4 separate regions of the Homo sapiens genome follow, and all the other regions are linked to region 3. Evidence: promoter capture Hi-C in human tissues and cell types (Jung and others, 2019). All regions are on one chromosome and are shown on one strand. The core of a region is centred on a gene start or on the middle of the fragment in contact, and the rest is flanking DNA. Distances in the headings are between cores, read along the strand shown. Region 1 overlaps LAMA3 (laminin subunit alpha 3). Region 2 overlaps RMC1 (regulator of MON1-CCZ1). Region 3 holds the start of ANKRD29 (ankyrin repeat domain 29). Region 4 overlaps LAMA3 (laminin subunit alpha 3).

Region 1 (3,173 bases), core at 579-3,078, 230 kb before region 3:
TGGGATATTGTAACCCAATGGGTGGAAGACCGACATAGATCTGCAAGAATGAATATTTCTCAATACAGAGGTATTTACCCCTTGAATTGTCTCACAGAAATAAATCTGAAGTAAGATCCATGTAATTTCCAATTTTTTGAATGAGGGAGGAGTTTCTTAATATTTCCTATTGCATTATTTCTTCCTTCCTTTCCTTCCTTTCTTCCTTCCTTCCTCCCTTCCTCCCTCCCTTCCTTCCTTCCTTCCTTCCTCCCTCCCCCCTCCCTCCTCCCTTCCCTTCCTCTTCTCTTCTTTTCTTTTTTCCTTTCCTTTCCTTTTTCTTTCTTTCTTTATTTCTCTCTTTTCTTTCTTTCTTTCTTTTCTTTCTTGACAGTCTTACTCTGTTCTCCAGGCTGGAGTACAATGGCACAATCACAGCTCACTGCAACCTCGAACTTCTGCACTCAAGCAATCCTTCTGTCTCAGCCTCCCAAGAAACTCAGACCACAGGTGCATGCCACCATTTCTGGCTAATTTTTTAATTTTTAGTAGAGATGAGGTCTTGCTATATTGCCCAGACTGGTCTTGAACTTCTGGGCTCAAGCAATCCTTCTGCCTCAGCCTCCCAAAAAACTGGAACTACAGGTGCATGCCACCAGGCCTGGTTAATTTTTTAATATTTAGCAGAGATAAGGTCTTGCTATGTTGCCCAGGCTGGTCTTGAACTCCTGGGCTCAAGTGATCCTCCTGCCTCAGTATCTAAAGTGCTGGGATTACAGGCATGAACCACTGCACCTGGCCTGCACTATGTCAAGTCTGCATAATTCATATTTGCACTAATTGCTGCCGTGCTGTATATAATGACTCTTAAACAACTGAGAGCAGTTACAGCTGCTACCTTTGGCCCTGAGCCTTTTTTATTCTAGATAGTATAGTAATGAGAACTCATTACTGGTTTACAAGTTTAAAGATCACATTTCCTTGATTCTTTGATTTTTTTTTTTTTTTAAAGTCAAATAAGCACATATTCATGCTCCTGGAGTTGGGATGTCAATTACAATATTTCCATTAATAAAGTTCCACTCCCCATCCAGTCACCCCCAAATTGTCATTAAACTGATGTGTGGTGTCTTATCATCAATTGACTTGATAGACTCAAGGGAATATGGTATTTACCTCATTTCCCCAAATTTAAGCACTGCATCAAAAAAAATTAGGCAATTCCAATACACGTTACCATGTACTTCCAATATACTTCACCAATGTATTACCATGGATACACTGTTGATATAATGTAAAGGATCAGTAAGATCTGGCTGGACTCCTATCTCTACTACTTACTAGTGTGATCTTGGGCTGTTGCTGTAACCCTCTGTGCTTCAGTTTCTTTACCGGTCCCCCCCACAGCCCCCATGAAAATATAAGCTCCATGAAGATGTGGAGTTTTGGGCTGTTTTGCTCACTGATATATCCCTACGGTCACCTGGCACATATTCATTCATTTGTTGAATGAATAAGTGAGTGGACTAATAATACCTATTTTGCTCAGTGAATATGAGATAATGTAATAAAGAATCTAGCGTAATATCTGCACATAACAGACAATGAAGGGTAGCTATCGTAATAAGACATGACAAAATATTCATCTTCTAATTGGCATCATTTGAAATTATTACAAGAAAGCAGAAGGCCCATGTATCCCCTAATAATCCAGAAGGTAACTAGGCTGAGGTGGCCTATTTAAGTCTACTAAGCAGGGTGGTCATATACTAATAATAGGGCTTTACTTTGTGACTGGCTTGGTATTCTACCTAACAGATCATGTTATGCAGAAGCTCTGTGTTCTAGAATACTTTATTTTTGATGTCTTTCTTACCTACATCTAAACTTCCCATGTAATAGATGCATAATTACAAAGTACCTTATATTTAAATCACAGAAATATTCAGGAAGTTCGATTCTACTTCTTCCTTACTCTTGCAAAGCATTACTTACTGGTTATAAGAAATAACTGGTTCTCTTATTCTCAATTTATGGCAGTGGCTAAACCCAAAGGACTGAAGTAAAACCTCCTGATTTCACGAATGACATTGGTACAACAAATAAAGAGCAGAAAATAGGCTTGTCTTGTGTGGCCCTGTGTGTCTGAGGGAGAAGAGGGGTAAGAGCATGCATGGGCTGGAAAGCCTTTGCGAAACCCTCCCCACAGCTGGCCACTCTGGCTTCTATCCAGCTAGTCTCCTGCATAATCTATATTCCTGCTTTTCACCCTTGACTGTCCTTGTGTTTATCATTGTGTAGTTAATCACTAGTGCCAGGAATGATGTCTGGGTGCTGTGTCTAACAAATGAAAAATGTTGACATAAAATGGCATTTATCCATGAAAAAGCTTCAAAAAATTTTTTAAAGAAATAATAGCTTGTTTTCTTGAGACATCAGATATAACAAACATCAGCTGAGAGAAGTACTGTTAATTAAAAATTTTGCCTGCCAAATGGATGTCTCACCGAGCCTGTTGCTGTTTAATGCTTCATTGTTTGTGAAGAGCCATAAAGAGGATGAAATTAGGACGCCTCTCCCAGGTGTTGGTCCCCTGTGGCTTTTAAACCTCAGAGCCTAGAATCCTTTCCCACTCCCCACATCCTTCCCTTCTCGCTGGTTGGATATACCTCCTAATTGCAGCTCAACTTAGCCCAGTTCTCCCATCTCTCGCTATTTTAATGGCATGTTTTGATGTCTGTCCACCACTGGACTGGAAAGCCCTTGAGGACACTGTCTGTGCTGTTTGTTAATGTGCCTCCAGTACTTAGCACTGTGCCAGACATATATATACTAGGACCTCCATACATTTTTCATTGAAAGAATAACTGAATAAGTGTAAGGCAAGTGTGAGAAATGCTCCTTTTGCTGAAATGGAAAATGGAAAACAGAAGAACCTTCCATTACCATCTTTTGCCATAGAATTGGGCTCCTTAGCTGCTGCTCAGTGTCCCCAGTCTAAGGCAGTCCCCACCTCCTACACATGGCAAGTGTCTTCCAGCCCCTTGGGCTTTTCTGCCTTGCTTCCCCAACCTAACCTGCCTCCCACTTCCATCTTCTGGCTCCACTGGGTTCTAGTAACCCCTTGGACCTACCAAAGTCCCACCTTATCCATAAACATTTCAGATAACCCCAGTCTAGGGTGGTTATGCCTT
Region 2 (2,926 bases), core at 67-2,566, 150 kb after region 3:
TGCATGTGCCTTTATGGTAGAATAATTTATATTCCTCTGCATATTACACCCAGTAATGGGGCTGCTAGGTCAAACAGTAGTTCTGCTTTTAGCTCTCTGAGGAATCGCCATACTGTTTTCCACAAAGGTTGAACTAATTTACACTCCCAGCAATAGTGCATAAGGGTTCCCTTTTCTCCACAACCTTGCCAGTATCTGTTATTCTTTGACTTTTTTATAATGGCTATGCTGACTAGTGTGAGATAGTTTCTCATTGTGGTTTTGATTTGCATTTCTCTAATGATCAGTGATGTTGAGCTCTTTTATGTTTGTTGGTCGCATGTGTGTCTTCTTTTAAAAAGTGTCTGCTCATGTCCTTTGCCCACTTTTTTTTTTTTGAGACGGAGTCTCGCTCTGTTGCCCAGGCTGGAGTGCAGTGGCACCATCTCAGCTCACTACAAGCTCCGCCTTCCAGGTTCAAGCAATTCCCTGGCCTCAGCCTCCCTAGTAGCTGGGATTACAGGTGCCTGCCACCAACCTGGCTAATTTTTGTATTTTTAATAGAGACAGGGTTTCGTCATGTTGGCCATGCTGGTCTCGAACTCCTGACCTCAGGTGATCTGCCCACCTCGGTCTCCCAAAGTGCTGGGATTACAGGTGTGAGCCACTGTACCTGGCCTTTGCCCACTTTTTAATGTTGTTGTGTTTTTGTTTTTTTTTTTGAGATGGGGTCTCACTGTCATCCAGGCTGGAGTGCAGTGCTGTGATCTTGGCTCACTGCAACCTCCTGCCTCCCAGGCTCAAGCAATCCTCCCACTTCAGCCTCCCAAGTAGCTGGGACTACAGGCGCACACCACCATGCCTGACTAACATTTTGTATTTTTTATAGAGATGGGATTTCATCATGTTGGCCTGGCTGGTCTCAGACTCCTGGACTCAAGCCATCCACCCACCTTGGCCTTCCAAAGAGCTGGAATTACAGGCATGGGCCACCAAGCCCTTTTTCTTTTCTTTTTTTTTTTTTTAATTTATTACTTGCAATTATAAAAAAAAAAAAAAAGAATAAAATCCCCAGCAAGAGACTAAAGCTGAGTGGCCAAGGCAGGAGTTGAGGTTAGGAGTTTGACACCAGCCTGGGCAACATAGCAAGACTTCGTCTCTACAAAAAAGTTTAAAAATTAGCCAGGGCCGGGCGCAGTGGCTCACGCCTGTAATCCCAGCACTTTGGGAGGCCGAGGCGGGTGGATCACCTGAGGTCGGGAGTTCGAGACCAGTCTCAACATGGAGAAATCCCGTCTCTACTAAAAATACAAAATTACCCGGGCATGGTGATGCATGCCTGTAATCCCATCTACTCACGAGGCTGAGACAGGAGAATCGCTTGAACCTGGGAGGCGGAGGTTGCGGTGAGCCGAGATCGCGCCATTGCACTCCACCAGCCTGGGCAACAAGAGCGAAACTCCGTCTCAAAAATAAAATAAAATAAAATAAAATAATAAAAAGAAAAATTAGCCAGGCATGGTGGTACATGCCTGTAGTCCCACCTACTCAGGAGACTGAGGCAGGAGGATTGCTTGAGCCCAGGAGTTTGAGATTACAGTGAGCCATGATGGTGCCACTGCACTGCAGCCTGGGCAACAGAGCAAGACTCCATCTCTAGAAAATGTTTAAAATATATATATATATATTCAGTACTGAATTCAAAAGGCTGCCAGAATGCTATCACTGAACTTTAACCAACAAACATAAATGATAAACATAATACCTGGTAAAATTCGATTCCTTGATCTGTTATGAAGACAATTTCAGTTGAACTAGTCCAGCAGAATCCTAGAATGTTGGCATTCTTAGTCTAAGAAAAATTTTTTAAAAATATTTTTAATTAATAAGAAAAAACACATATAACTCTCTTCAAAAGCTTCACAAACTCTGCAGTTTGTCATTCTTTAATGAACGTTCCCCGGAATGTTTACTAATTAACAAAACAAATTTTCTTTTAAATACAATGTTCCCTGATTTTTGCCCATAACTCTTCATTCAAGAACCTGAATCCTAATTCCTTCTACTAAACAGAACAGGAGAAGTCTGTGTTTTGTAGAAAAGTAACTGACCAGAGCTCACAGACAGCAGCTTCTACCTGCAGGAATCACCATACTGCCAACATTCTTAGTCACCCACGTTATAAAAATGGTTATTAAAAATGTACAAAGGCCTAAGGGTCTTTAGTGAGTGTTGACTAAAATGGGTTGAGGACCCTGAGACACACACCCGACTCGCTTGAGGGCAGACAGGTTTGAGAAGGGCCGGGCTGAGGGTCTCTTCACACGGGGCCACTGCAGGGCAGGCAGGACAGTGGTGGGGATGCACCTCTCCTCACCAAAGAGTCCGCCCTGAACTCCATTGAGCAAAACAGTCACAAAAATGCAGAAAGCCCTACCCCAACCACTAGCAGCTTCTGTCAGCGCCCAAGGTGCCACACTGCCAATTTTAGCTCAGCTCCCTCTAGCCTAGTTTACTACACCCAGCAAATCTCATTAATGTGGATTAGAATCAACACCTAGGAGAAGAAAGAAAGAGTAAGGACAAGACAAAGACAACAAATTGAGGAAAGGAAACTTCAGGAAACAGAAAAAGAAACTCCTCACCAGAAACCTCCACTCCAGGTGGCTGTGAGGCATCCCAGGGCCCAGACCCAGATGTGCTGTCAGCCCAGTGAGGAGAAAAAGGGCAAGACAGACGACAGCCCCAAGGGCTAGCACTACTGGGTGTTCACCACGCATCATCCATTGAACCCTCCCCCTCCAAAGGAACAAGCTTTCAAACTTAGAAAACTGTTCAGTGTCACAAAGCAAACACCCCGCCTGACTCCAGTTTGGGAATCAACATGAGGGACAGTCTGACTTCAAGTCTGTGCTCCCTGCGACCCCAATGCCCCGCTCTCCACTAC
Region 3 (3,276 bases), core at 352-2,851:
AAATACAAAAATTAGCTGGGCACGGTGACAGGAGCCTATAATACCAGCTACTCGAGAGGCTGAGGCAGGAGAATTGCTTGAACCCGGGGGGTGGAGGTTGCAGTGAGCCAGGATCATGCCACTTCACTTCAGCCTGGGCAAAAGAGCGAAACTCCATCTGAGAAGAAAAAACAAACAAACAAACAAAAAACTATTAAAGCAAAACCTCTGATGCTTGATTTTTATATAATAACGTTGTGTGGCAACTTAAAAACTGTGTCATTTATAGGCACTCAAGGCAAGGAAAATGTTTAGAGTCCTTATTTTTAAAATTGGAATTTTCTATAAAAGTTCAGAATGTTTTTAATTTAAAGTTGTTTTAAGCACAAAGTAATACAATTTATCCATGAAGGTTAAACATTTTAATTTTTATCATTAACTTTTATTTGTAATTGTTTTCTACCTTTTAAATTAAATATTCGTTACAAATTTAATTGAGAAGAGGGAAGGAGGGGGAGAATGAATGAGTGGATTCTTATAGTTTGAGGGGGTAAGACCTCCATTTTTATACTATTTTTTTGTTTTGTTTTTATTTTTATTTTTGAGGCAGAGTCTTGCTCTGTTGCCCAGGCTGGAGTGCAGTGACCGAATCTTGGCTCACTGCAGCCTCAACCTCCCAGGTTCAAGCGATCCTCCCACCTCAGCCTCCCGAGTAGCTGGGACTACAGGTGCGCACCACCACGCCTGGCTAATTTTTGTATTTTTAGTAGAGATAGAGTTTTGCCATGTTGGCCAGTCTGATCTCGAACTCCTGGACTCAAGTGATCTGCCCGCCTTTGGCCTCCCAAAGAGTTGGGATTATAGGCGTGAGCCACTATGCCTGGGCTACTTTTTTACTTTCACTTTTCTAAAATGCTCTCAAAGAGCTGTTGTTGCCGTTTATACTTAAAACTCCCAGTTTTACTTCGCCCAAACCAATCCTGGGCAGGCAGCAGGAGTGGACACACATACTGCAATACTCCAGGGCTGCAGCATCAGACCCAGAGGAGGAGGGAACTGCTGGATTAATAACGCGGAGGAGGAGGAGGGGTATGAGTCTATTCCAAAATTGGCCTTTGCCCTTCAAAGAGGAAAAGACCACTTATTGTTTGTGCAATCAAAAGGTTTGTTTCCTAGATATTTTCCCCAGGAGAAAAAAGTTTCCCAGGAAACCGAGAAAGAAATTATAACGAAAATAGCTATTGGATGAATTTTTTCCTCAAGCTTCATTTTTACATCATTATAATATTTGTGCTGTAATGAAGGTTGGGAGTCCTCTGGGGCAGACCAGTCTATTTGGGAGGATATGTATGGAGTTTGTGTGTGAGTACATGCGGGTGAGTGGGCGTGAGTGTGGAAAGTATGTGTGTGGAACCTCTGTGTGTGTGGAATGTGGAGCGTATGCACAATGTGTGTGGAGTTTGGAGTGTGTGTGTGGACGAGTGAGTGTGGAAGTGTGGACGTGTGTGGAAAGTGCACAGTGCGTGCGGAGTTTGGGGTGTTTGTGCACGCGCGTGTGTGGCAGGTCCTGGAGCGCGTCCACGCGACACCCCATGTGTAGTGTGCGCGCGCGCGCGCCCCCGCGCCGCCCCTTCGGCCCGGCCCTGTGTGCGGCGGCTGCTGCCGGGCCGGGCGGCGGGAGCGCGCGGCGTCGGAGGCCGCCCCTCTGCGGAACGCCGAGAGCCCCGGGAGAGTGAAGGGCCGGGGAGGACAAGGCGCCCCGGGCCCAAAGCGCGCCGGCTCCCGCTCGGGCGGCCGCGGACATGTGCAGGATGTCCTTCAAGGTGAGCGACCGGGACTCCGGGGTCAGGGCTGGGGCCGGGCTCGGGCGGCCGGGCCCGCGGGGTCGGGTGGGGTGGGATGGGGTGGGATGGGGTGGGCGCTGCCCGCTGCCCGCCGCCTCCTCCTTCCTCTCTCCTCCAGCTGCGGGCGAGGCCCGGGAGGAAGCGGCGGGGCTGGGTGCGCCCTGTGGGTTTGCGGTTTGCCTGCCTGCCCTGCCTGAGAGGCTTCGCACTCATGGCTGTGGATCGGCTGAGTCTGTGCCCGGCGACGGGGCGGCGGGGACTGTCGCCGGGTAACAGGTCGGGGGCGGGTAAGAAGCCTGGGGTCAGCGCTGTCCTGCAGCAGAAGGAGTCCCCGACCCTGACCCTCTGGGTCCTCATGCAGGAGTACCAGCTGCACCCACGGATGCCTCCTCCCCGGAGGGGTGGCCAGCACCCAGGGAGGCTTCAGGGTCCAAAGGTGTCTTGTCTCAAAAGAGTTGATTAAAGTCATTCCATCTAATCCCCACATTTTAGGATGAAAGAGGTTGATTTGCCTCGATTGAAAGGGTTTAATAAAAATAGCAGTTAAAATGTATTAAACAGTTCAAATGTGCCTGACTCTGAACCAAGGACATGGTGTGTATGGTCTCAACCCTGGGGGAGACCTGTGGGAGGTGCTCTTCGTGGCTCTTTTTTTTTTTTTTTTCAAATGAGAAAACTAAGATATAGAGAAATTAACTCACCCACGGTTTTGCAGCCAATAAGTTATGGTGTTAAGACTGAAACCCAAGTGTGTCTGACTCCTAAGCCACTGTAATCCCGTTGCCGACAATAGCTCATGTAAGCAGAGGAGTGACATGGCGAGATGTGCATGTTGCAAAGATCTCTGGCTAGGTTTGGAGAAGAGGGTTGGAGCTGGAAGATGTTGTCATCTTTTTAAGAAATGGTACTGGACCAGTGCATAGGTGGTGAGAATGGAACGAAGCAGACGAATGTGAATGACTTTAAAGTTTTTTTTCCTGAGACGGAGTTTTGCTCTTGTTGCCCAGGCTGGAGTGCAATGGTGTGATCTCAGCTCACTGCAACTTCCGCCTCCCGGGTTCAAGCTATTTCTCCTTCCTTACCCTCCAGAGTAGCTGGGATTACAGGCGTGCGCCACCATGCCCAGCTAATTTTTTCGTATTTTTAGTAGAGACGGGGTTCTGCCATGTTGGCGAGGCTGGTCTCGAACTCCTGACCTCAGGTGATCCACCCTCCTTGGCCTCCCAAAGTGCTGGGGTTAAAGGCGTGAGCCACTACGCCCGGCCGACTTTAAAAGTTTTAAATCGGCATAATTCAGTAGGGAAGGCAAGAGAGATAAAGATAAAACGTTTGGTTTGGGATAAATTTTGAGGATAGATGGGAATCCAAGCAGAGATGTTGATTAGACAGATATACTCTCCTCGATCCCAGGAGGCAAGTCTGGGCAGCAGCTAGAGATGAGATTTAGGAGTCA
Region 4 (2,938 bases), core at 112-2,611, 190 kb before region 3:
ATTGAAGCAAAACATGAAATAAGAGATCACGTGTTCCAAAATTTCCCTAGTTGCAATTAGCTACTTGCACAAATTAAATACCAACACAAGATGTTAGGATGAGGATGTGAGCAAAACATTAAAAGAGATGTTAATTATTAAGCTTTCATCCCATGTTAATTGTTTAAACTTTTATACCACACACAAATGGAGGAGAGAATTCTCTAAATTTCATAAGATGCCCCTGGGGCATCTTGCAAGTAGAGAAATAGCACCATACGGTTCACAGGATGGGGAGACCAATTCATCTCACTCACCACCACCTTAAAACATCTCCTGGGAATTGGAAGGTCTCCTACAACCTGGCGGAACCCCTTGGAGCAGAGATGATCACCTGGAGTCCATGGTCCAGGAATGGGTTTTAGGTGAACCTATGAACCTCATGAAACTGTAGATAAAAGTTTGTGCTGATTTTTCTGGAAAGGGTCTATATCCGTCATCAGATTCTAAGGCGGTCTGAGACCTCTCCAAAAGATAAAAGGGGTCTCACCTCCTAACTATTTCTGTAAAATGAGATCGTGACTATAAAATGCTACATACACTATCAACATCTCTTACGGGTCAGTCCCATTTCCCACATACTTTTCTATGTTGACTCAACATGAAGCACTTTCCTGCTGACCGGCAGCTGTTGTCTGGCATTGCACGATCTCTCTTACCTTGCAGAGGCAAGCCCCGGTCCCTGGGTCACACACTCCTGGCTCAGTCCCATCTCTGTTGCAATTGCAGGGAACACACTCAGGAAAGCGGTAAAACCCGGAAGCACATCGGTCACACTGCCGCCCTGTGATTCTGGGCTTGCATCTGTACACAAAGTAAAGGAAGCAAAAATCATCATCTTTGTACACACAATTTTAAAGTGCTCACTTACACTATAGTGGACTAATTGGTGTGCAAAGCCAGTTAAATAGATACAATGCCTGCTTATAGTCCAAGGCAGAATGGAGAGAGGCAGATAAAAGGCACTTACAGAATGTAGGTCATTGACCAATGGCCATTGTGGATGGTCATGGATGACCGTCGTAGATGGGTCAGGCTTAGCACTAGGTGTTGAGGGCGCAAGAAGGGACATGGCCCCCGAGCCTGGAGGGCTCCCGCAGATGGCCCATAAGTGGAAATGATGACAACCTACACAGAATCTAACTGAGGTTCAGAGGAGTAGCAGGTGACAAGTTTCCCTGGGGGAAATGACTCCTGACCTGAGCTTTAAAGGGCAGAGTCATAGGGTAGAAGTTGGGATGCGCATTCCAGACAGAAGGAACAGAGCGGGAGATCACTCAGTGTGTACAGGGAACAACACAAGCATGGTGCTGCTGGGGCAGATGTCCAGGCAGGGAATGCTGCCCCATGGCCTGAGGAGGTAGGTGGTGTCAGATCATCAGGACAGAGGGGCTGGACACGGCAGCACAGCGCAGTAGCTGAGACCTGTGCATGCAAGGCTGCAGTTCTAATCCAGCTCTGACCATATGAGACACACCATCTTAGCAAGTTCTTTAACTTCCCAAAGCCTGCTTTTCATACCTATGAGGGACAGAACACGGTAGCTGCTGCCTCCTGGGATTGCTGGGAACCCATGAGGCAGTGCATGCAAAATTTCATCCCAGTGCCTGGCACTTGGCAAGTTACAAACAAGGCAACATGAACAGCTGTTAAGGAGGAGAGGGTGTGGTTGGACTTGTGTGAAGGATGGAGCCCAGAGGGTGAATTCCAGCAGCAGCAGCAGCAGGATGTCAAGTCAGGAGAGAGACTGGGGGCTAACCTAGGGCAAAGGTATCCAGATGGGGAGGAGGGATGGGCTCCCAAACTATTTTGGGGTGAGGTTTCTGGGAACTGTAAGATTCTGGATGAGGAGTAGAGGAAAGAAGAGAAGACAAGGAAGACTCCCAATTTCCCTGCTTGGGTGACAGAGTGGATCTTAATGTCCCTTGTTACCTGCAAGGGCCAGAGCTCAGAGGAAAGCACAGTGGGGGGTGGGAGGGTCACTCTGAGTCATCCACCCTCAACCATCTGCAGGTCCTTTTAACTGAAGATCCGGGCAGACAAGAAAACACAAACAGCTGAGCAGAGGCAGAAAAGCAGTGGGCTATGGCTGTGCCTGGAGAACCCAGAACTCGAGGTTGGAGAGGGGAAGAGAAAGTGCCGCGAGCCCTGGGGAGCCAAGCACTGCATTCAGAGCTGGGATCTACCTACACACTGATTCTCTTCTGTGGGACTAAGGGAAGTATTAGAAATACATTTTTATTGGCATATAGGCAATAACACTTTATTGTTCAATTACTACCAAATGTAGGCCATCACCTATCTCCTAATACCTGTGAAAATATCTTACCCCAGTGACCATCCTAAAAAAGTTAAATACGACTCTTCATATCCCATTAAGTTTCTCTTTGGCAAATATCTGCTTATTTCCCTTTGGCAAATATCTGCTTATAAAGGATTTTGTATGTGATTAAGAACATAAACTTGGAACCAGGTAACCTGCTTTGAATCCCAACTCTACCACTTACTGGACCTTGGGCAAATTGGTCACTTTACAACCAAGTTTCTTCATCTGTAAAAATGGAGGTAACAATATCTACTTCACAGGATTGTCGTGAGGATTAAATATTACATGTAAAAACCTTACAGGAGTTGCTTGCACACACGTAAGTATTTGCTATTACTATTCTAGCTGTGACATGGGCTAAGGGGAGGAGACGGTGCCTTTCTGTCCACTCGGCACAACTAAAAGGACCAACTCAGCATTACTTGCAAGACCTCCTGGCAAGTTGCATCTTTCAGCCCCATCCCTCTCACCTCTCCCTACTCGATACCTGCAGAAATGATTCCATAAGGAAGTAGCCTCAAAACCACACTTAGAGTAATGTAGGTATAGAGTGTAAATGTTCTGCTTGAAGTG

The links. Contacts are between HindIII fragments. The study calls those that stand out against the background at their distance.
Region 1: a contact is called between a fragment that was not itself captured here and the fragment with the promoter of ANKRD29 in region 3, in 1 of the 25 tissues and cell types used here (dorsolateral prefrontal cortex).
Region 2: a contact is called between a fragment that was not itself captured here and the fragment with the promoter of ANKRD29 in region 3, in 2 of the 25 tissues and cell types used here (bladder and thymus).
Region 4: a fragment that was not itself captured here is called in contact with the fragment with the promoter of ANKRD29 in region 3 in 2 of the 25 tissues and cell types used here (IMR-90 fibroblasts and lymphoblastoid cells).

The regions. Positions count from the first base shown.
Region 1 is chr18:23,886,753-23,889,925 of GRCh38, reverse strand. All of the region lies in intron 41 of LAMA3 (laminin subunit alpha 3), which reads right to left. Among named protein-coding and RNA genes, the nearest start is that of LINC02958, 94 kb to the left of the region's middle. The HindIII fragment of the contact is 3,091 bases long and covers 283-3,173 here.
Region 2 is chr18:23,508,098-23,511,023 of GRCh38, reverse strand. RMC1 (regulator of MON1-CCZ1) reads right to left here. Exons shown (of 20, transcript NM_013326.5): 5 at 1,745-1,831. It also overlaps a transcript of NPC1 not described here. Among named protein-coding and RNA genes, the nearest start is that of RMC1, 6.0 kb to the right of the region's middle. The HindIII fragment of the contact is 4,548 bases long and covers 1-2,926 here.
Region 3 is chr18:23,661,236-23,664,511 of GRCh38, reverse strand. ANKRD29 (ankyrin repeat domain 29) reads left to right here and starts at 1,601. Exons shown (of 10, transcript NM_173505.4): 1 at 1,601-1,802. The coding sequence starts at 1,782. The HindIII fragment of the contact is 14,259 bases long and covers 1-3,276 here.
Region 4 is chr18:23,855,749-23,858,686 of GRCh38, reverse strand. LAMA3 (laminin subunit alpha 3) reads right to left here. Exons shown (of 75, transcript NM_198129.4): 33 at 699-843. Among named protein-coding and RNA genes, the nearest start is that of LINC02958, 130 kb to the left of the region's middle. The HindIII fragment of the contact is 6,118 bases long and covers 1-2,938 here.